Regions from separate parts of the Homo sapiens genome. Here all the other regions are linked to region 6. The links are contacts of gene promoters, found by promoter capture Hi-C in blood cells and fetal thymus (Javierre and others, 2016). All regions are on one chromosome and are shown on one strand. The core of a region is centred on a gene start or on the middle of the fragment in contact, and the rest is flanking DNA. Distances in the headings are between cores, read along the strand shown.

Region 1 (3,729 bases), core at 16-2,515, 780 kb after region 6:
GTGAAAAAAGGTCTGTGGGCTCACAATTTGCTAATGACAGGAAGGAGGTTGAGAAAGTTTCTCAAAGGGCACATTCTTCAACATGGCCAAGAAGGTGCTGGAAAAGGAGGGACACCCAAGAGGGCAGAGGCAAGAGCTGTGCTGAGATACAGCCTGGGGAGATACTCCCAGGAAGCAGAACTCGGGCCTGGTTAAGACTTCTTATTCTTGTAGGGCCTGAAAACATCTTCCAGTAGGATTTCAGAATTGCTTTGGACCAGTGATTACTGTGTCTCCTCCTCTTCTCATTTTCACATGCAAGTATTTATTGTGGTTATCTGGTCCCGGCTCACCATCATATATTGCGTGCACGGGAGAGAAAATTAATCTTTTTAGTTTGTAAGTCTCTGGATCAAGAGGAGCTGCACCGGACAAGCCAATCTAAAACAGACCGTGAGATCCTAGATTTTGTGCCTGATGCTGGGATTGTAAGAGGCTTTTGGGGATCTTGGGATGAACACTGGAAACTAACCATAGTTTGGGTTGAAAATATCACTACAGTTCGGAGATTTTAAGGCATCTGTGGCTTGTCTAAGTGCAAAGATTCAGTAGGCTTACTTCTAGCGACCTCAGACTTGACGCCACCCGAGACACCCTCACCCATGACCACATCTTGGACATTTTTTTTTTTTTTGAGAGAGAGTCTCGCTCTGTCGCCCTGGCTGGAGTGCAGCGGGGGCGATCTCGACTCACTGCAACCTCCGCCTCCCGGGTTCAGGCAATTCTTCTGTCTCAGCCTCCCAAGTAGTTGGGGCTACAGTCGCACGCCACCACGCCCAACAAATTTTTGTACTTTTAGTAGAAACGGGGTTTCACCATATTGGTCAGGCTGCTCTCGAACTGCTGACTTCATGTGAGCCACGGCCCCCGGTTCATTCACTTCTTGAAGGATCATTTACCAGGCATCTAGTAGCCATCATCAGGTCCTACGTCTCTCCAGCTACCGCGGAAAAAGATCCAGAACCAGCCCTACCCCGTCTAGAGGAAAGGATGAACATTAGGCAAGTACTTGGAATCGTGCGAAGTGCACTCCATCAGATCACCTTGGTGAGTGAACTGCCAAACCCGAAACACCGAAGGCCACCAGCCACAACCCGGAGGGCGGTCACAGCACCTTTCACGCATGCTCAAGGCAGGCTCGTCCTTGAGCATGCGCGGTACGTGGGGTATACGTCATCTCTCGGCGTCTGCGCCTGGCGTCACCGACCGGTGCGGACAGGAAGAGGCTCTGGGCTGGCACATGTGTATGGCGGTGAGGCGGGCGGGTACATGGCGGGCTCTGTGGGACTGGCGTTGTGCGGGCAGACGTTGGTGGTGCGGGGCGGCAGCCGATTCCTGGCCACCTCCATAGCAAGCAGGTGAGGGGGCCTTGGTCTTGGAACAGGGAGACCAGGCTGCGGGCGCGCGTCGGGTCCTGGCGACCCCGCTTCTCCCGCACCGCCTGGTCGCACCCACTCTGGGGTGACCCCGGGGAACTCCGCTCCAGCCCACGAGTCCTCCGCCGCAGTCTCGGCCTGGCCGCGTCTCTGCGCCTGGAGGGTCCGCTTTCGCCGTCCGCTCTCGGCGTCCGCTCCCCGGCTCCGGCGCGCTCCTTGCACTAGATGGCTGGTCTGCGGTGTTCTTGCCCGGTTAGCGCCGCCGGGTCGCTTCCGGTCTCCGCGGCGCCGGCGGGGACCGGGTAGGTAGAGCACGTGGGGCGACGCTGACCAGTCAGCAAGGCCCGGCCGAACACGCTCTGCAGAACTGGGAAGAAGCGGGTCTCGGGTCTCCCTGGTGAGAAGGGAGGGGCTTACTCACTGCGAGCTCACTGACCTCCAAGCGCGCTCCCTCTTTTTGCAGGGTTGTCTGTTCCCTCTTCCCGGCCTGCATCCACTCACCTGGCCTTAATTGCTCCTTAGGGCTCCAAGTCATCTCCGACACTTACCCAACCCAAGGGTGCACGTGGAGCTCGCAGTGCGCACCTCCCTAGTGGCCCTTCGCACGGCTCGGGTTTTGCTTTCCGTAATTTTATTCTCCTTCCTTAGTGTATCGCCAGTGCTAGGACGACGCAGGGGATTTTTAACTTAGTAAATGTTTGTTGATGGAACAGTCCTAACTCAGGACTCTCGGAGCAATTAGTAGTGCTGTCAGTTTCAGCCCCTCGTTTCCTTTCCCAGGTTATTTGTGATTTCATATTTGAAACGGACGACGTGTCTGTCAGATATACTGTATATTTTTTGTTCGTTTGGTTTTAGAAAGCCAATTCGATGTTAAGTTAGGTCTCACAAAAATTGTACTCAGAAACCCGTCACATATCCCAGATGATTTTGTTTTAGAGACTCACGGTCTAATATCTGCCAGAGTGAGCTGTGGATATATTAGACATGATTTGCTTACCTTCAGTCTTTGCATTTTGAGGAAATTCTAGTGGCTGGTGGAGTTTCTGACTTGGAAGACAAGTCCACGGTTCCATATGGAAAGTTTTTTGGTGCACTCGCTTTAAAGGCTATAAATATGTACAAGATACGTGCCAGGGGGTGAGGATGGGATAAACCGAAGTTTAGGTTCAGTATGGAAAATGGGTGATTCTTATGTTGGTAAGTGCCTGGGGTCATGGGAACACTTTCAGGTAGGTGAGATATGTTTCTAAATAGTAATGGCTCTTTGAAATTTGTATACAGAATCCCACTGAACGCTCAACAGTATCAGAACATAATTTCTTTTTTTTCTTTTTTTTTTTTTTTGAGGAGTCTCGCTTTGTCGCCCAGGCTGGAGTGCAGTGGCGCGATCTTGGCTCACTGCAAGCTCCGCCTCCCGGGTTCACGCCATTCTCCTGCCTCAGCCTCCCGAGTAGTTGGGACTGCAGGCGCCTGCCACCATGCCTGGCTAATTTTTTATATTTTTAGTGGAGATGGGGGTTTCACTGTGTTAGCCAGGCTGGTCTCGATCTCCTGACCTCGTGATCCGCCCATCTCGGCCTCCCAAAGTGCTGGGATTACAGGCGTGAACCACCGCGCCCGGCCCGTAATTTCTTATAACCATGTCGCATAGATTTTGTGGTGCCTAAAAGAATAGCATATTAATTCCTGTTGAGTATTTATCCCTCATTTGTTTTACTGAACTTTTTTTTCCCACAGAACTATGCAGTATGACGTACTCCAATAAGAGATTAAGCAAATAAAGTTTGTTAACTGTTCCCTGAAATATTGTATCTAGACAGTTTTCTTGTCAAGTATACAACTTTTAATTTAATGAGTGTGCAAATATTTTTTGTTCCACAGAGAAAAAAAATCAACTTTTTTTTTTTTTTTTTAACAAAGTGCTCTTTTAAAAATCATTGTTAGGCTGGGCGCAGTGGCTCTGCCTATAATCTCAGCACTTTGGGAGGCTGAGGCGGGCAGATCATCTGAGGTCAGGAGCTTGAGACCAGCCTGGCCAACATGGCGAAACCCCGTCTCTACCAAAACTACAAAAATTAGCCAGGCGTGGTGGCAGATACCTGTAATTCCAGCTACCGGGAAGGCTGAGGCGGGAGAATTGCTTGAATCCAGGAGGGGGAGGTTGCAGTGACCTGAGATCATGCCCTTGCACTCCAGCCTGAGTGATAGAGCGAGACTCCAACTCAAAAAAAAAAAAAAAAAAAAAAATTAGGGCCAGGCGCAGTGGCTCACATGGGCCAGGCGCAGTGGCTCACACCTGTGAGCACTTTGG
Region 2 (3,837 bases), core at 130-2,629, 560 kb after region 6:
GTTGGGTGCACAGGCTAAGGCAGCCGGCCCAATCTGGAAACCAGTCAGGCTTTTGCCAGCCCCTAATCTAGCTGATTGGAACATGTTTGTTGATACACCAGCTCTGTGATTTCTCAGGTTTAGAGAACTCTAGAATTTGATAGAGTGGGCCGGGGGCAGTGGCTCATGCCTGTAATCTCAGCACTTTGGGAGGCTGAGGTAAGCAGATCACGTGAGGTCAGGAGGTTGAGACCAGCCTGGCCAACATGGTGAAACCCCGTCTCTACTAAAAATACAAAAATTAGCCAGGCATGGTGGTGCGCGCCTGTAGTCCCACCTACTTGGGAGGCTGAGGAAGGAGAATTGCTTGAACCTAGGAAGTGGAGGTTGCAGTGAGCCAAGATCACGCCACTGCACTCCAGCCTGGAGTGGACAGAGACTCCATCTCAAAAGAAAAAAAAATTAATTAAATTTGATAGAATGATGATGGGGATAGAGTGTAAATTTGCCAAATTTACCCACGCAACAGACATGATTTTACCTAATACATGTGAATTATGAAGAATAAACTGATGAAAATAGTTTGGGAATATAAAACTTAAGAATACTTGCGCCGGGCACGGCGGCTCACACCTGTAATCCCAGCACTTTGGGAGGCCGAGGCAGGTGGATCACGAGGTCAGGAGTTCAAGACTAGCCTGGCCAAGATGGTGAAACCCCATCTCTATTAAAAATACAAAAATTAGCCGGGCGTGGTTGTGGGCGCCTGTAATCCCAGCTACTCAGGAGGCTGAGGCAGAGAATCGCATGAGCCCAGGAAGCGGAGGTTGCAGTGAGCCGAGATTGCGCCACCGCACTCCAGCCTGGGCGACAGAGTGAGACTCCGTCTCAAAAAAAAGAAAAAAAAAAGAATGCTTTCATCAGCAAAACATTGTAACATTCCCTTTACTTGAGGGCGTCCACAATACCGTAAGGTTGCGTGAACTGTCCTACTGAATCTTCATGGTTGCTTGGATTTTAATCACATCAGAAGAATTTGAGAGCATACCATGGCTGGCAGTCCATAAAAGACTAGTTAGGAACATCAGCTTTTAATCATCGACCCTGCTTTCAGGTTTCATTTTAAACTTATAGAAGAGGGGAAGACATCAGTGTGCTTATTTGGCCTTTACTCTAAATCTTAAAAGGAAGAAAATTTTAATATTTCTTAGTTTGAGCCCAGGTGCGGTGTCTCACGCCTGTAATCACAGCACTTTGGGAGGCCAAGGCAGGCGGATCACTTGAGGTCAGGAGTTCAAGACCAGCCTGCCAACGTGGTGAAACCCTGTCTGTACTAAAAATTAAAAAAAAAAAAAAAAATTAGCCGGGCGTGGTGGCAGTCGCCTGTAGTCCCAGCAACTCCAGAGGCTGAGACAGGAGAATCGCTTGAACCCCAGAGGTGGAGGTTGCAGTGAGCTGAGATGGTGCCACTGCACTCCAGCCTGGGCGACAGAGCCAGACTGCATCTTGTGGGTGTAAAAAAAAAATTTGTAGTTTGAGAGTCAACTTTTTCCTCACAGTTTCTGAAAATGTGGCCCTTTTGATGCTGATTAAAGCTGGTTGTGATTTTAACACCTTAGTAGCCAGAATCGAGACTGTCATGGGGACATTTAAAATCTCACCACACTTGACACCATTCACAAGTAGCCATGTGGCTCAGTCTCCTGAGTGCTCCTGCAGAGTGCAGCTCTGCCAGGCTTTTCTCTAGATAATCTCGTGTGTGTTACTGTAGCAGTTTGAGTTTAAACACAAGAGTTCACTCGGTTAACATGTTCTAACCAGCAAGATTTCTGTTGTTTGCAGGTGCCGTGAGCGATGTGGAGATGCAGGAACACTATGATGAGTTTTTTGAGGTGAGAGAACTGAACTCTGTGACTGATAGACCTGTTGATCTTCTGTATCTGTTTGGAAGGATTTAAAATGTTTCTCTGCTAATAAACATACATGAGTTATATCTAATGACACTTTGTAATGTATAACGAGTCTTAAACCACTGTGGTCTCCCTTCAGGAGGTTTTTACAGAAATGGAGGAGAAGTATGGGGAAGTAGAGGAGATGAACGTCTGTGACAACCTGGGAGACCACCTGGTGGGGAACGTGTACGTCAAGGTAGGAGCCAGGGCGAGACGGCGGCGTGGCCGCTTAGTGTGCCAGGGCCAAGGCCAACAGGCGAAAGCGAGACAGTGGTGCAGCCGCTTAGTGTGCCGGGGCCAAGGCCGACAGAGGATGGGGTGCCTGTCGCCATGCACCTTGAGATCCTGGATGCTCAGGCGCACAGCAGGGCTCAGGTGCACTGGCTCGGCGCCTACCAGCTGCGTCATATGTGGCGGTGGCCAGCCCACACGTGCGCCCAGCCAGCAGAACTGAAGGACGGACCGTACACCACAGCCATCGTTATTTCAGTGTAGAATATTTAGTACCTGTTGGTTTAGAAGCTGTGTGGACTAAGGAAAAGTTAGGTTTACTCACATGTTTGGTTTCTTTTTTCTTTTTTAGTGAATAAAACTTTATTTGCCTACACAGCCATATTTGCTCCTTTAACCAGTTGAATTTGAAAAATGAAGGCAACATTTGGCAAAATCTTGGACTATCTTGAAGTTAATCTCATTGAAAATAAAGGATTTTTCAATTATCCTGTAATACTATTCCACCTTACTATACCTGAGTGTGTATATCTCTCTCTGATATACTTGGATTGGTAATTGAGAAAGTCTTATTAAAGCGTGGATGGCAAGCACTTCTGTTTTTGTCTTTTCAGTTTCGCCGTGAGGAAGATGCGGAAAAGGCTGTGATTGACTTGAATAACCGTTGGTTTAATGGACAGCCGATCCACGCCGAGCTGTCACCCGTGACGGACTTCAGAGAAGCCTGCTGCCGTCAGTATGAGATGGGGTGAGTGAGGAGTGGCCAGTGACGTGACTGAGCACAGTTCGGGGCCGTGTGCACACGAGGTAGTAAATGTCTCCTTCCAACCCACCCACAGAGAATGCACACGAGGCGGCTTCTGCAACTTCATGCATTTGAAGCCCATTTCCAGAGAGCTGCGGCGGGAGCTGTATGGCCGCCGTCGCAAGAAGTGAGTATTCCTGTGCCCGTTGTTAAGCTCAGTGGCTTCTTTCTCCCCTCACAACCCTCCCCCTTCCAAAAAAAAAATTTTGGCATAGGTGTCGTTTCTGTTTTTTAAAAGGCAGTGCTTAGAACATAGTACATATTTTTAAATATCCAAATGTCCTCTTTGGAGAAGAATATTCACCTGCACACAGGTAACTTCATTATCCAACTTCTCAAGTAGAGATCAGATCTTAGTAATCAAGCAAGAGGGCGGTTAGCTGGGCAGCCGCGGACATGAGGCTCGTGGTGAAAGTGGGCATGCAGTTTATTCTCCCAGATATTACGAAGAAGAAGAATAGATGTTGTAACCTCCTTTAGATCAGGGATGGCTTCCCTGGGACACATTGGAAGAAGAATTGTCTTGGGTCACAAATAAAATACACTAATGATAGCTGATAACTTTTTTTTTAATTGCAAAAAAAATCTCATAATGTTTTAAGCAAGTTGATGAATTTGTGTTGGGCTGCAGGTTGGACAAGCTTTTGCTTTACATATTTCACATGTCCACTGGGGTTTCTTTTGGTTTTGCTTGTTGGTTTTAGGGCATTTCATTATGTCTTGGGATCGCTGGCATCCTCCCTTCGGGACACTGGCAGAATCAGGCCCAGCGGTCACATCTCTCTGATCCTACATTTAAATGTACGACAGGTCACAGAGCAGAGAAAATCAAGACGTCAGAATCGAACCGATTGAGTTCTGAGTCTGGAG
Region 3 (3,362 bases), core at 171-2,670, 580 kb after region 6:
CCCTGTGGAGGCCGCCAGCCATCCCTGCCATTTCTCGTCTGGTGGCAGCACATCTCATCTCTGCCGCCATCTCCACATGGCCTTTTTCTCTCCGCGTGTCTGTGTCCACGTCTCTCTTCTTATAAAGACTGGACAGGATTTTTTTTTTTTTTTTTTTTTTTTTTTTTTTTTCTGGAGACAGTCTCGCTCAGTCGCACAGGCTGGAGGACAGTGGCGCGATCCCGGCCTCCAATGCCACCTTCCAGAGCCTTCATGATGTAACTCCATCCCTGTCCCCTCCCCACATCGCCGGCTTTATTGTTCTTCGTGTCAGTTCCTGCCAGTGGACATTTAATTCTAATTCACGTCTCACTCCCTCCCCTACTGTGAGCCCCACGTGGCAGAGACCGCGGCGGAGCTGCGCGGGCCGGAGGAGGCTGCGGAGCATCGCTCTGACCTGAGCCGGGGACGCTGCGGAGGCGCAGCACGTTCCTCTGCCCAGAGCTGATGGGCACCGTCCGTGTCTTTCGCTGCAGGTCCGGGGGGAGACTCGGGGGCCTGGGATCCCCCATTTAGCCATAGGGCGGGGGGATCAGGTTCAGCCTCTGAAAGTCCAGAGCACGATGTTTGGGAAACGGCCCCGCCCGCGGCCTCCGGGACCTGGCGAAGGAGCCCCGCGGGGCGCCCCTGCTACCACCCTGCGCGGAGTCGGCCCCGTCCCCGAGAGCGCCCGGCAGCCCCTGGCCGTGGGCCGCACCGGAGCCGCGCAAGGCGACTGTTCTGCGCCTCGGCTCGGGGTTCGGACCCGGCTCTGGGCGCGGTCACGCGGGGCGCTGCGCACGGCGTCCGGCGGCCACAGAGCGCGGCCATCGAGTCCCGCCCCGGCGCGGCGCCCCCTCCCGGGCCCGCGACACACGCCCTCGGGGTCGGTCCTCGAGGACGCGCAGGGCCCCCCACCCACCAGGACGCACGTTTCAAGCTCATCAGTAAAGGTTCCTTAAATTCCCGAAGGGCAAGAAGTTAACCAAGTAAAACAGCATCGGAACACCAGGTAGAAGACACCACCGGGGTCCGCGGGTGGGGGTGGCTGGAACCCGGGGCGGGCGGGCTCAGGCGAAGAGGAAGGCGGGGGAGGGGGCGGCGACCCGGGTCTGCGGTTGAATCAACAGGGCGTGGGAATGGGGCGGGCGGACTGGGGTGGGGGCATGCCGGGGTCCCGGGGAGGGCGGGGGTCGGGCAGGCCGGAGGGTCCCAGGCTGCGGCGGGGTGGGGAAGGGGTGGGGGGGAGGGGCCCGGGCTGGGTGGGGTGGAGGAGGGGCTGGGGGGGCGGGTGCTCTGCCACGAGACATTGGCCGGCGCCGGCCTCCGCCCCCGCCTCTCCGCCAATCACCGCCCGCCTGCTCCCCTCGCCGTGGGTCCCCGCGAGGCCGCCACCCCGGGGTCGCCGTCTCCGCCTCGCCGCAGTCGGGGCAGCCGCTCGCCCCTCTTTTCCATGTATCCGTCCAGGTGAGATCCGGCCCCACCGAGACTCGCTCCCCTCTCTGGACAGAGGATCTCAACTGGGTCCCGGTTTCCCTCTCCGCGCCTCCGCCCAGAGTTGCATCATCTGCACCGAAAGGCGGCGAGACAGGGTCTCCCAAGACCCCCGCCCCACCGGCGCCCACGCCTGCGGTCTTGACCGCCCAGAAGATGGGGGCTGGCCGTGCACGTGGCCCCGGGCTCCCACCCCAGCCCCCGCGCCGGCGGAGTGGACCCCACTGGCGGCGAGTCCTGGAGCGTGGAGCAGGGACGCGGGGTGGGAATCCGGGGGAGATGCACGTTTCGGTGCCCAGCATTGAGTTCGCTGCATTGTGGATGGGAAATGGCTGTTTGCAAATCGCCCTTTTTGGCGGACCGTGTGGGGTGGCGGTAAACGCTGTCGTTGCGCGGGCGGCACGCGAGGTGGGTGCCCGCTGGGGGAGGGACGCGGGGCTCTGCCCAGGTTGCGTTCGGGGGATGGAGGTTTTCCTGGGACCTCACTTCCCTGAGCCCCAGGCGAGACCGCAGCTGAGCTGTAGGATGCAAGCGGGAGGCGGAGCGTGGGTGGGAGAGCGGAGCGCGAAATTCTCGGCTTCCCGAGGATCTTCTGGGCTTACTTGTCCCCAGCTTTGTCCCAAAGTGTCGCTTCCGGAGGCGGAGTGGCCGGCGGTTTCCGGGTCTCAGTAGGGTCTGGATCTCCCACCTGGAAACCTAGAGGAGTTTCCCGCTCTCCGTGCGCGTGGCCTTCCCCAGGCCCCTCCGGGAGTGCTGGCGCGCGAGTGCAGGGGTGCCCCGGGAACGTCGTGACCCCAAGGGGGTCTTGTGGTTTAAGGAGCGAACGGAACCGGCCAGGCGATGCCAGCTGAACCCGCCTTCCCGGGACGCACGTGCATCCGGCCGCCCGGCGCTGTTGTCTTGGGGAGCCCGCGGGTTCGGGTCTGGGTCGCCTGGCGAGCTTTCCGCCGAGCGCCTCTGAGTTCTACAGAGCCCCGACGGCTTGCGATCTGCGTTCCCGGCAGTCCCTTACCTTGCGAGAGAGGGCTCCAGGGCGAGGCGAGGGGCCAAAAGCAAGGCGCTGGGCCGCCTGCGTCTGCCGGGGCCTCGGGTCCACGGCTTTCTGGAAGATTCGGCGGCGGAGCATGCGCGCCCCAGGCCAGACAGGGCCTGTGCCAGACGGAGAGTCCCTTCCCGTAGGTGACTCCCGCGACCCGCGGAGGAAGGTGCTGCTCCGCTCACGGCGGCGGCTTCTTACAAGGTTGGGATAGAAAGAAAAGCGTGGGACACGAACCTCTGAAAGCGGGTGCATTTTTCTGGGGAAGAGAAGATCCAACGCCTTCGGATTTTCAGACAAGTCCGTGGTCCCAAGACCTTGAAAGCACCACCCTCCAGGGTCGTTTGAAGCCGCTTTGGCCCCCAGTCTGGTGAATTGCAAAGGTGGAGGGGAGGCTGGGAAGTCCAGGAGGCCAAGCTGAGGCCTGGGTAGGGCCTGTGCGCAGAGACCACCTGAACAGCATACTCCAAGGGCTTCCAAAGGCAGCCGGCTTCCGCAACTTTTTCTTTTTTAATAGGCTTTTTAAAAAAAAAGCAGTTTTAGGCCGGGCGGGGTGGCTCACTCCTATAATCCCAGCACTTTGAGAGGCTAGGCGGGCGAATCACCTGAGGTCAGGAGTTCGAGACCAGCCTGGCCAACATGGTGAAACTTCGTCTCTACTAAAAATACAAAAATTAGCCGGATGTGGTGGCGGGCGTCTGTAATCCTACTCAGGAGGCTGAGACAGGAGAACTGCTTGAACCCGGGAGGTGGAGGTTGCAGTGAGCCGAGATCGCACCACTGCTCCAGCCTGGGCAACAAGAGGGAGACTCCG
Region 4 (3,538 bases), core at 912-3,411, 530 kb after region 6:
TCCAGCCAGGGTGACAGAGCGAGACTCGTCTCAAAAAAAAAGAACTCCTGAGCTCAAGTAATCCTCCTGCCTCAGTCTCCCAGAGACCAGATCTCCTCCTTCCCATCACTGATCTCTGTTACAGATTAGCTGCCTCCTTTATTGTCCTGTACCCAACTCAGATCAGATGGCGCAAAGACCTCATGACGGTTGCATCTTCAGTGGGGAAGATTAAATACACCTTTCTTCTTCTTCTTCTTCTTTTTTTTTTTTTTTGAGACAGAGTCTGGCTCTGTTGTCCAGGCTGGAGTGCAGTGGTGTGATCTTGGCTCACTGCAACCTCCGCCTCCCGGGTTCAAGCAATTCTCCTGCCTCAGCCTCCCGAGTAGCTGGGGTTATAGGTGCCTGCCACCACGCCCAGCTAATTTTTGCATTTTTAGTAGAGACAGGGTTTCACCATGTTAGCCATGCTGGTCTTGAACTCCTGCCCTCAGGTGATCTGCCCACCTTGGCCTCCCAAAGTGCTAGGATTACAGGCATGAGCCACTATGCCTGGCCAAATACACCTTTCTTGAAAGAAAAAGACCACCTCGACTAATCAGACCATTGTAACTATGCATTAAAGCCTAAAGATGTTGAAATTCTGGTAAGCTTCCATAAACTTTATCTATATACATGGTCCCAAACTTCTATACTTCAGAACACTGACTTCCATTCTTTGGAATCTGTGCTTCCTGGATGGCTGGACTTAAACCTTGCACTTGAATAAACTCTCCTTAAACTAGATTCTGGCCCTTTTGACTATTTTAGATTGACACCTGTATGCATACATGTAATGAATCAGGCTACATCTGGCTGCTTGGGGGTCTTGGGAAAGGGAGCACAGCAGTGATACATTGCTGAGGTCATGGGGCTGGAGGCAGCATGGAGGATGGATTGAAGAGTCTCTGAAGTCCTGGGGCAGCACCGTGTCAATGGGCTTCTCGGCACTTCCTCCCACAACACCAGTGCCACACCTAAGCATCTCTCTAATTCAGGGGTCCTCCTGCTCACTGATAAATGTCCTTGAAGCCAGCAGTTAGCAGGCCACAGATATTGCCAGATAGTCTGTGGGGACTCCCCAGGGTCCACATCTCCCCGACATTTCCCCTCCCATTGTCACTGGTATTCAGTCGATTCCAGCAATTTCTCCATCATGCGAGGCAGGCACAATAGGTGCCCCATTTCTAGGTTCAGCATCTCTTCTCTGTGACTTTCTCCTGACTCCACTTTTGGTTGATAAACTTTGAGGGTCAATAATGCGGTTTGCTATCACCTTCTTCTGCCATAGATGGGCTTTATCTCCAGGTTCGGTTTCAAGAATTGTTTTAGGTCAAAGTGCTCGTGCAGTTGTGAAAGGAAAATCTCTTGGGCCCCCAAAATCACGAAGCTAAAGGGAAAAGTCAAACTGGGAGCTGCTTATAGCAAACCTGCCTCCCTTTCTACTGCAAGTCACCCCTCTGCTCACTGAGATAAATGCATATCTGATTGCTTCCTTTGGAGGGGCTCATCAGAAGCTCAAAAGAATGCGACCACTTGTCTCTTATCTACCCATGACCTGGAAGCCCCCTCCGGCTTTGAGTTCCGCTTTTGCTTTGAGTTGTCCCACCTTTCCGGACCAAACCAATGTTCATCTTACATGTGTTAACTGATGTCTCAGGTCTCCCCAAAGTGTCTAAAACCAAGCTGTGCTCCGACCACCTTGGGCACATGTTGTCAGGACCTCCTGAGGCCATGTCACGGGTACACGTCCTCAACCTTGGCAAAATAAACTTTCTAAATTAACTGAGGCCTGTCTCAAATGGTTGGGGTTCACACAGTCAACCAAGCGCACGTTAGTGGAACTGTCCATCCTGTCCGAGCATTTGTGACTGTGTGAATGGCAGCCTTGTGAGTGAACTTAGTCAGGAAGCCCTGCTTTCTGTTAATGGCAGGATTCCCCCTTCCCCCCAAAAAATCATTTATATTCACTCTTATTGGAGTGTAAAACTCCCTTCACAAATCGTGGAAAGTAAATGTCAGAAACATTGCTTTTCAAAAGACTTTCAGGAAAGGAATGTGTGGAGCAGCTGTGCAGAAATAACAAAATGTTCGTTTTTCTTCCAGACCAGCTTATCTGCAGTGAATTCCTGGCACTGATACAAAGGATTATTAAACCATGCAGAAAACATGGCTCGAGTTCCCAGTATATGTTCCCTTGCATACTAGCATACACCGTTCACACCAGTGGCTTTTTCCAACCACAACTAGCTTTGGCCAGCATCATCTCGTGCCTTTCCTCCTGGACGCCTGTTGTGACTCTCCGCAACCATCCTGCCTGTCTAGAAAGGAGCACAGGTGAAGCTGCCTGACTCATCAGCTACACAAACTTGTTCTGACTTAGGTTTTGTTGTTTTTTGGCTTTCAGACAGGGTCTCTCTCTGTCACCCAGGCTGAAGTGCAGTGGCACCATCTTGGCTCACTGCAGCCTCAACCTCCCTGGGCTCAGTGATCCTCCTACCTCAGCCTCCAGAGTAGCTGGGACTACAGGCATGCACCACCATGCTTGGCTAATTTCTGTATTTTTTGCAGAGATGGGGTTTTGCCACGTTGGCCAGACTGGTCTCAAATTCCTGGGCTCAAGCAATCCACTTGCCTTGGACTCCCAAAGTGCCGGGATCGCAGGCGTGAGCCACCGCGCCTGGTTGAGACTAAGGTTTTCAGAGGATACAAATCCATCAATGTAATTTTCAGCTGTTTCCTGATCAGGAAAGAAGCCTTTCCACCACAGCTATGCAGATTGTTTTACACCATGACACTTCTTGAATATTCATGCTCACCTTTAAAGTTCAGTTCTTCCTGCTGTATTCCAGCTTCTTTCATAACCAACAAACCACTCCTTGGCATACAGTGACTACTTCATTGCCAATTCCGTTCCATCCATTCCTGGTCAAGATCTCTCTCCCTACACCACACCCCACTGACCCTGTGTTTTCCATATTTCAATGGCTCTTGGTAATCACAATTATTATAAATTTTCAACTGTTTGTCTTTTTTTTAATAGAGAGGGGATCTTGCTATGTTGGCCAGGTTGGTCTTGAACTCTTGACCTCAAGCAATCCTCCCACCTCAGCCTCCCAAAGTGCTAGGATTATAAGCATGAGCCACCACGCACAGCCCAACTGCTTGTCTTTTGATGGCTTCCCAACATCACTGATGCTTTCTGCACTATTGACAAAGAGAGTGTTTCCATGTGTCCTTCCCACAGTGAGCACTGGGTACATGCTACCCTTTTTGTATGAATTCACAGTGCAATTAAACCCATGGTCACAAAAAGACAAATGCATTTTAAAAATTAAAACATATACATTGTCAGCAACCAGCAGAGGTGCCTGTAACAGAGGGAGTGTTGGGATGCTGCCAACACCTTGGGTCAGGTCAGCTTTTGCAAATTTTGGCACCAAGTTTACAGAAAAAAAAAAAAAGTCCTTTTCATTTTCACAGCTTTTTGCTTTTTGGAATGCTGACAAGGGCCTGTGGG
Region 5 (3,450 bases), core at 84-2,583, 550 kb after region 6:
AGCAAGCCAGCTTCTCCCACCCTCCTCCACCTGCTTTGTTCCAGCCACACTGTCAGCCAATCGGATGGTGCCCACCCACACTGAGGGTGGGTCTTCCTCTCTCAGTCCACTGACTCCAATGTCAATTTCCTCTGGCAACACCCTCACAACACACCCAAGAACAATACTTTACCATCCTTCAATCCAATCAGGTTGACAGCTAATATTAACCATCACAGGGTCTTTTCAACTTAGCTTGTTTCTCTATTAGATTACTGACTTCAGGGTGAAGCCCTTTAATGAATAGGGCAAAGGAGGCATTCTCTATGCCTGGAATCAGCATGGATAGCTCTGAAAAGAAGCAAGCCTACTTTACCTGCTTGAGGGCCTACTTTTAACTTTTTATAAACACTTTATCCAACTTATTACATATAAAAAAAGAAAAAACTTGGCCGGGTGCGGTGGCTCATGTCTGTAATCCCAGCACTTTGGGAGGCCAAGGTGGGTGGATCACCTGAGATCAGGAGTTCAAGACCAGCCTGGCCAACATGGTGAAACTTTGTCTCTACTAAAAATACAAAATTAGCCAGGTGTGGTGGTGCATGCATGTAATCCCAGCTACTTGGGAGGCTGAGGCAGGAGGACCGCTTGAACCTGGCAGGCCGAAGTTGCAGTGAGCCGAGATCAGGCCATTACACTCCAGCCTGGGCAATGAGAGCGAAACTCCATCTCAAAAAAAAAAAACGAAATGGACATTTTCAAGTTACTCACAAAACCAGTGAGACTTAACCAAGGTAAATTAGCCAGGTGTGGTGGCATGCACCTGTCATCCCAGCTACTCGGGAGGCTAAGGCAGGAGAATTGCTTCAACCCAGGAGACAGAGGTTGCAGTGAGCCAAGATCGCACCACTGCACTCCAGCTTGGGTGACACAGCGAGACTCCATCTCAAAAACAAAGATTTAACCAAGGTAATGGCATAACGAAGGTCATGACTTAACCAAGGCTGAACCAAGCATCTCCAAAGAAATGCAAAGCAGTCTTCCTAAGCGTCAGAACCACTCTAAAGACAGCTCAGAAAAAGAAATCTTGCTGCTCACACCTGTAATCCCAGCACTTTGGGAAGCTGAGGTGGGTGGATCACTTGACGTCAGGAGTTCGAGACCAGCCTGGCCAACATGGTGAAACCCCATCTCTACTAAAAACACAAAAATTAGCCAGGCGTGGTGGTGAGCACCTGTAATCCCACCTACTTGGGAGGCTGAGGCAGAAGAATTGACTGAACCTGAGAGGTGGAGGTTGCAGTGAGCTTAGACCATGCCATTGCACTCCAGCCTGGGTGACGAGAGCGAAACTCCATCTCAAAAAAAAAAAAAAAAAAAAAAGAAGGCCAGGCGCGGTGGCTCACACCTGTAATCCCAGCACTTTGGGAGGCCGAGGCAGGCAGATCACCTGAGGTCAGGAGTTCAAGACCAGCCTGGCCAACATGGTGAAACCCTGTCTGTACTAAAAATACAAAAAATTAGCTGGGCGTGGTGGTGGGCACCTATAATCCCAGCTACTCGGGAGGCTGAGGCAGGAGAACTGCTGGAACCTGGAAGGCGGAGGCTGCACTGAGCCGAGATCATGCCACTGCACTCCAGCATGGGCAACACAGCAAGACTCCGTCTCAAAAAAAAAAAAAAAAAACAGGACTGGAAATTGAACCCAGGCTGCAAACATAGCCTCATGTTTGTAGAGACTCATAGCCTCTGGCCCACAGGCTGGAGCACTGACAAACCCTGCAGGGGCTCCAGAGCAGGCAGTTTGAGCATTTAAAGGGTTTTGACTTGTTTCAGATCTGATCTCAGCTGAACTAATTCCCTGGATGTTAGCATTTTATTTTTTTAATTTCCCTCCCTCCTTCCCTCCCTTCCTTTCTCTTTTTCTTTTTCTTTTTGGCAGCATCTCGCTCTGTCGCCCAGGCTGGAGTGCAGTGGCACCATCTCAGCTTACTGCAACCTCCACCTACTGGGTTCAAGCGATTCTCCTGCCTCAGCCTCCCGAGTAGCTGGGAATACAGGTACATGCCACCACATGTGTTTTTAGTAGAGATGGGGTTTCACCATGTTGGCCAGACTGGTCTTGAACTCCTGACCTCATGTGATCCACCAGCCTTGGCCTCCCAAAGTGTTGGGATTACAGGCTTGAGCTAACATTTCTTTTCTGGCCTATTTCTTTTATTTTTTATTTTTTATTTTTGTTGTTGTTGTTGTTTTGGGTTTTTTTGAGACGCAGTTTCCTTCTTGTCGCCCAGGCTGGAGTGCGATAGCGCCGTCTCGGCTCACTGCGACCTCTGCCTCCCGGATTCAAGTGATTCTCCTGCCTCAGTCTCCCAAGTAGCTGGGATTACAGGAGCCCGCAGCCACTCCCCGCTAATCTTTTTTTATTTTTAGTAGAGACGGGTTTTCACCCTGTTGGCCAGGCTGGTCTCGAACTCCTGACCTCAGGTGATCTGCCCAATTTGGCCTCCCAAAGTGCTGGGATTACAGGTGTGAGCCACCGCACCCAGTCTGTTCCAAATTTAAATATACTTTCCCCTTTTTGAGAGAAGGAAATGTGTGCATTGTGGAATTCCAAAAACACTGCTTAAGAGATGTATGGGAGCTGAGGGAACAGGCAGAAAGAGATGAGTTTAGATCATCCCAGAGGCAGAAGGAGAAGCAGCAGCTGGAAACAAACAGGAGAAAGCCTCCATGGTCTTTTTGTTTGTTTGTTTTTGTTTTTGTTTTGAGACAGAGTCTCACTCTGTCACCCAGGCTGGAGTACAGTGGCGCCATCTTGGCTCACTGCAACCTCCGCTTCCTGGGTTTCATGTGATTCTCTGCCTCAGCCTCCCAAGTAGCTGGGATTACAGGCGCCCGCCACCATGCCCGGCTAATTTTTGTATTTTTAATAGAGATGAGGTTTCACCATCTTGGCCAGGCTGGTCTTGAACTCCTGACCTCGTGATCCACCCACCTTGGCCTCCCAAAGTGCTGGGATTACAGGTGTGAGCCACCTCACCCAGCCTGAAACTACTTCTAAATTTTAAAAAGAACTGTGGATGGCTGGGCGTGGTGGCTCACACCTGTAATCCCAGCACTTTGGGAGGCCAAGGCTGGTGGATCACCTGAGATCAGAAGTTCGAGACCAGCCTGGCCTACATGGTGAAACCCTGTCTCTACTAAAAACACAAAACATTAGCCAGGCATGGTGGTGGGTGTCTGTAATCCCAGCTACTGGGAGGCTGAGGCAGAAGAATCGCTTGAACCCGGGAGGGGGAGGTTGCAACAAGCTGAGATCGTGCCACTGCACTCTAGCCTGGGCAACAAGAATGAAACTCTGTCTCAAAAAAAAAAAAAAAAAAATTGCGAGGCAAGGTGGGGGATGCCTGTAATCCCAGCTCAGAAGAATCGTTTGAACCTGGGAGGCAGAGGTTGCAGTGAGCCAAG
Region 6 (3,808 bases), core at 184-2,683:
CTCACTCAAGAGTTTATAGAAAGTATTTTTGGATCAGGTAAATGAAATCATCCAACAGCAGTGCCGTTAAAATCTAAACTACAAAGCCCTGTGTGATCTGGCCACTGCCTACATCTCCAACTTCATCTCATAACACTCGCCCCCCCAACCCCAACTTATTGGTCTTTCAAACCACTCCTAGGGCACGTGAAGCTCTTTCCTGCCTCTGCATAGGCGGTTTCCGCTCATTTCTCTTCAGATCTGAGCTGATTATCAGCCCAGAGAGGCCTTCCCAGAACAGCCTATCAAGAAGAGCAACCTCCTTCCCTTTTTGCTATTATCTGGTTTTCTTTTTCCTTTTTTCTTTTCTTTTCTTTTTGAGACGGAGTTTCGCTCTTGTTGCCCAGGCCGGAGTGCAATGCTGCGATCTCGGCTCACCGCAACCTCCGCCTCCCAGGTTCAAGCGATTCTCCTGCCTCAGCCTCCCGAGTACTGAGATTACAGGCATGCGCCACCATGCCCGGCTAATTCTGTATTTTTAGTAGAGCCGGGGTTTCACCATGTTGGTCCGGCTGGTCTCGAACTCCCGACCTCAGGTGATCCGCCCGCCTCGGCTTCCCAGAGTGCTGGGATTACATGCGTGAGACACCGCGCCCGGCCTGCTACCTGGTTTTCATTTCCTTTACTACACTTACACAAGGTCTACTTTATTTGCCTGTTTGCCTCCTTGCTTTATTACTAATAGATCCTCGAGGGTAGTGATTTTGTCTGTCTTCTCTCCTGCAGCCCCGTCACGTAAAGGTGCTGGTCAAAGGAAGGCGGCAATCACCGACCGGACACCAGGGCAAATCAGGGCAGCCCAGTGATTCGAGATGCCGGCTGGGGAATCGGACCCATGTGGGTCTTTTCTCAGCTTCCCCGCTTACTGTGACTTTCATAAGTAACGGAACCCCCTCAACCCGTTTCCTTAAGTGTAAAAAGGCACTAGACACAGCAAGAAGCGGTTCCGGCAGCGCGGAAACCGAAGCACACGCTGGGTGTCACGACAACACGTGGAAGCCGCATTCCGTGCCGGGGCCCTGGCCCTAGCCCCAGCCCCGGCCCCCGGCCCGCCATGTGGCGCGGCTGACCGCGGCCGTGCGCCCACCTGTCTCCCTCTGCGTCTTCACGCTGATGTACTGGCGCAGCTTCTTCACCGCTCGGTCCCGGATGCCCTTCTCGCTGGACGCCAGCCGCTGGGCAAATTGGATCTCGGCCGGCTGCATGGCGGGGGCCATCGCGCCCGCTGGAGCATCCCCGGCCGCGCAACCCGCGGTGCCGCTGCAGCCAGCCGAGCGCTGCGGAGCAGCCAGCCACCGTCCGCCCGGGCCGCGACTGCACAGAAGGCGGCGGCGGCGGCGCGCGGGCTGATGGCGTCACAAAGGCGCCGCGGCTCGCAGCGCGCTCTGGGAGTGAGCGCGGCAGTGGCCCTGGCAGCTGGCGGAGCGGCCCAGCCCGTGTGCACGTGGCGCCGGCGCTGCCTTTCGGTTGCCAAAATTCAGGCTGTAGACGGCGAGGTTAGCCAGGGTTAGGACTTGACCAGGAAGAGACGGAAGGCTGTTTGTAAACGGTCTAGGATTTTTTGTTTGTTTTTGAGACAGGGTCTCCCTCTGTCGCCCAGGCTGGAATGCAGTGGCGCGATCTTGGCGGTGATCCTGGCTCACTGCAGCCTCGACCTCCCAGACTCGATCGATCCTCCCATCTCGACCGCCCAAGTAGCTGAGACTACAGGCGCGCGCCATCACGCCCCACTATTTGTTATTTTTTTGTAGAGACGGTGTCTCGCTATGTTGCCCAAGCTGGTCTCAAACTCCTGGGCTCAAGCAATCCTCCCGCGGCGGCCTCCCTGATCGCTGGGATTACAGGCTTGAGCCGCCGCGCCTGGCCACGGTCCAGGATCTTTAATCCCATTTAGCACACCTCGTTGAGCCAGCAGCTTACCTGCGATCTCCGTGGCGTGGAGTTTTTAACTGTGGAGCCCCCGGGCCCCCGGGTGGAGTTGAGACTGGAAGGAAAGGCCGGCACTGGGGCCTGTTGAGCGGGTGGAGGGCTCGCCTTCCTCCAGTGCCTGCAGAGGCTTGGGCAGATCGGTGCGCCCCTACCCCGGAGCCCTGGTGCCAGTGCAAGGGCGCCCGCGCAGGCGTCCCGAGGCCTGGCGAGCACGCGCGCTTCCAGGGGAGTTGGGCAGGGCGGGCTGCTTGCTAATTCCAGAGAGGGAAGAAATCTTAGCTTTGGGTTCATCTAAAACCCGAGGCCATCCTATATTTTGCGGACTCAGCGGGCGTGCTGGGGCAAGTTAATGGACTAGGTCACTCCACACGTAGCGGGGGTTATCTCAGTTGCTCCGCTCAGTTGTCTAGGCGACCTCCCGAGGTGCCTGTTGACACAAAAATTCAACCCTTAACGTAAAAGCGCCTGAATCCGAGCGAGGGAAGGCGCGCGGAGGCGAGGTTTCCAGCAAAGACTGCCCATTTGAACGCAGTCCCCCTTAGTGTAGCATTCCTCGCCAAACAGGAAAGGACCCATCCGATTTATTTTACTTGACACTTACATCAGGGGCTGACTTTCCTTCTGCTTTGCAGATAACAAGTTTAAAACCCCGGCTAAGCCAGAAGAGCCAAAGAGGGACCTCGCCAAGGCCACTCCTCGCTCTCTAGGCCGAGAATACTGCGCAAATTCTGGGAGGTTTGGGCCTGGCGGCTCTCCGTTCCCGACCCCCGGCGTGGATTCGTTCCCGCGCTTTCTGGCGTGAGGGGTCAGAGGGCGCGCCGACGCTCAGGCGAACGGAGCGGAGGCGGCAGCGGCCATGGGCGAAGCGGGCGCCGCTGAGGAGGCCTGCCGGGTTAGTGAGGAAGCCCTGGCCGACGCCAGCGTGTTTGAACCGTCGCCATTCGCTCCCCTCAGGGCCTCGCCCCGTGCGCTCGGAGACGGCTCGCTGTCGCGTGCTTGGGGGAAGCCTGGAGACTTCCTCCCCTAACGGCGTGGGCTGGGCCGGAGCGGGGTGGAGACCTGGGGCGGGAGGCGACTTCGCCTCCAAACCCACGCGGGGACCCGGTCTGTGAGGCTGCGCGTGGTGGGGGCACTCAGTGGCGCCAAAGCGGGCATGGGAGCGTGGGATGGATGGTCACTCTCTTCTCTGCTCCGTGGAAGCCCAGTTCCCCTCCGAAGGCCCTGGCCCCCTGCTTCGGGACTTAGCGTCAGGCTTAGAGAGAATCTGCCCTCCATCGATTTTATAACTGTAACTGATTGCATGCGATGGAGAAGGCGCTTGGACTGGGGCCAGATCCGTGTTCACATCCTGCTTCCACCCGTTATTAATTGTGCTGCATTGAGAGTCATCTAGCTCCCGTGCCTTAATTTCCATCTAGACAATCTTGGAGGCTTGGGGTGAATAGTAGATGAGATCACGGGCGGAGGGCTTGGCAAACCCAGTAGGAAACCAGATGACTTCCTTTTCCTCCTGATTAGTTTGGTGCTGCAGTGATAAAAAGTTGCAGGCGTTTTCTTTGACTTTTAGGAATAGAGCTCTTGTATGACTTTTCTTTTTCGTGGTCTTGCTCTGTTGCCCAGACTGGAGTGCAGTGGCACGATCATAGCTCACTGCAGCCTCCAACTCCTGAGCTCAAGCCTTCTTCCCGTGTCAGCCTGCTGCGTACAGGCGCCGGCCACCACACCTGGCTAATTTTTGTATTTTTAGTGAGATGGAGTTTCACCATACTGGTCAGGCTGGTCTTGAACTCCTGACCTCAGGTGATCCACCCGCCTCGGCCTCCCAAAGTGCTGGGATTAC

Evidence for each region. Contacts are between HindIII fragments. The CHiCAGO score rates a contact against its expected background, and 5 or more counts as called.
Region 1: a contact is called between the fragment with the promoter of WDR4 here and the fragment with the promoter of HSF2BP in region 6, in 3 of 17 cell types (fetal thymus, M0 macrophages and total B cells). The highest score is 6.6, in fetal thymus.
Region 2: a fragment that was not itself captured here is called in contact with the fragment with the promoter of HSF2BP in region 6 in 2 of 17 cell types (M1 macrophages and M2 macrophages); the score reaches 5.8 in M1 macrophages.
Region 3: a contact is called between the fragment with the promoter of CBS here and the fragment with the promoter of HSF2BP in region 6, in 2 of 17 cell types (total CD8 T cells and total B cells). The highest score is 5.3, in total CD8 T cells.
Region 4: a fragment that was not itself captured here is called in contact with the fragment with the promoter of HSF2BP in region 6 in 9 of 17 cell types (M0 macrophages, endothelial precursors, M1 macrophages and 6 more); the score reaches 11.0 in M0 macrophages.
Region 5: a contact is called between a fragment that was not itself captured here and the fragment with the promoter of HSF2BP in region 6, in 12 of 17 cell types (M1 macrophages, naive CD8 T cells, total CD8 T cells and 9 more). The highest score is 9.9, in M1 macrophages.

The regions. Positions count from the first base shown.
Region 1 is chr21:42,877,075-42,880,803 of GRCh38, reverse strand. It overlaps WDR4 (WDR4 tRNA N7-guanosine methyltransferase non-catalytic subunit), which reads left to right and starts at 1,265. Exons shown (of 11, transcript NM_018669.6): 1 at 1,265-1,397. The coding sequence starts at 1,309. It overlaps LOC105372817 (a long non-coding RNA gene), which reads right to left and starts at 1,092. Exons shown (of 4, transcript XR_937765.3): 1 at 1,049-1,092. RefSeq lists enhancers at 1,013-1,362, 1,433-1,542, 1,573-1,622, 1,275-2,239, 2,240-3,203. The HindIII fragment of the contact is 4,183 bases long and covers 1-3,729 here.
Region 2 is chr21:43,093,728-43,097,564 of GRCh38, reverse strand. It overlaps U2AF1 (U2 small nuclear RNA auxiliary factor 1), which reads left to right. Exons shown (of 8, transcript NM_006758.3): 4 at 1,822-1,871; 5 at 2,029-2,127; 6 at 2,777-2,910; 7 at 3,002-3,094. Among named protein-coding and RNA genes, the nearest start is that of U2AF1, 12 kb to the left of the region's middle. The HindIII fragment of the contact is 4,462 bases long and covers 1-3,610 here.
Region 3 is chr21:43,073,893-43,077,254 of GRCh38, reverse strand. It overlaps CBS (cystathionine beta-synthase), which reads left to right and starts at 1,420. Exons shown (of 17, transcript NM_000071.3): 1 at 1,420-1,485. The HindIII fragment of the contact is 28,872 bases long and covers 1-3,362 here.
Region 4 is chr21:43,128,950-43,132,487 of GRCh38, reverse strand. The region is part of intron 3 of LOC101928369 (a long non-coding RNA gene); the gene reads right to left. Among named protein-coding and RNA genes, the nearest start is that of FRGCA, 10 kb to the left of the region's middle. The HindIII fragment of the contact is 3,058 bases long and covers 633-3,538 here.
Region 5 is chr21:43,111,273-43,114,722 of GRCh38, reverse strand. All of the region lies in intron 2 of LOC101928369 (a long non-coding RNA gene), which reads right to left. Among named protein-coding and RNA genes, the nearest start is that of U2AF1, 5.4 kb to the right of the region's middle. The HindIII fragment of the contact is 4,508 bases long and covers 1-3,450 here.
Region 6 is chr21:43,657,113-43,660,920 of GRCh38, reverse strand. It overlaps HSF2BP (heat shock transcription factor 2 binding protein), which reads left to right and starts at 1,433. Exons shown (of 9, transcript NM_007031.2): 1 at 1,433-1,535; 2 at 2,601-2,860. The coding sequence starts at 2,825. It overlaps RRP1B (ribosomal RNA processing 1B), which reads right to left and starts at 1,361. Exons shown (of 16, transcript NM_015056.3): 1 at 1,127-1,361. The coding sequence starts at 1,256. RefSeq lists an enhancer at 369-418 and a silencer at 1,139-1,328. The HindIII fragment of the contact is 5,137 bases long and covers 1-3,808 here.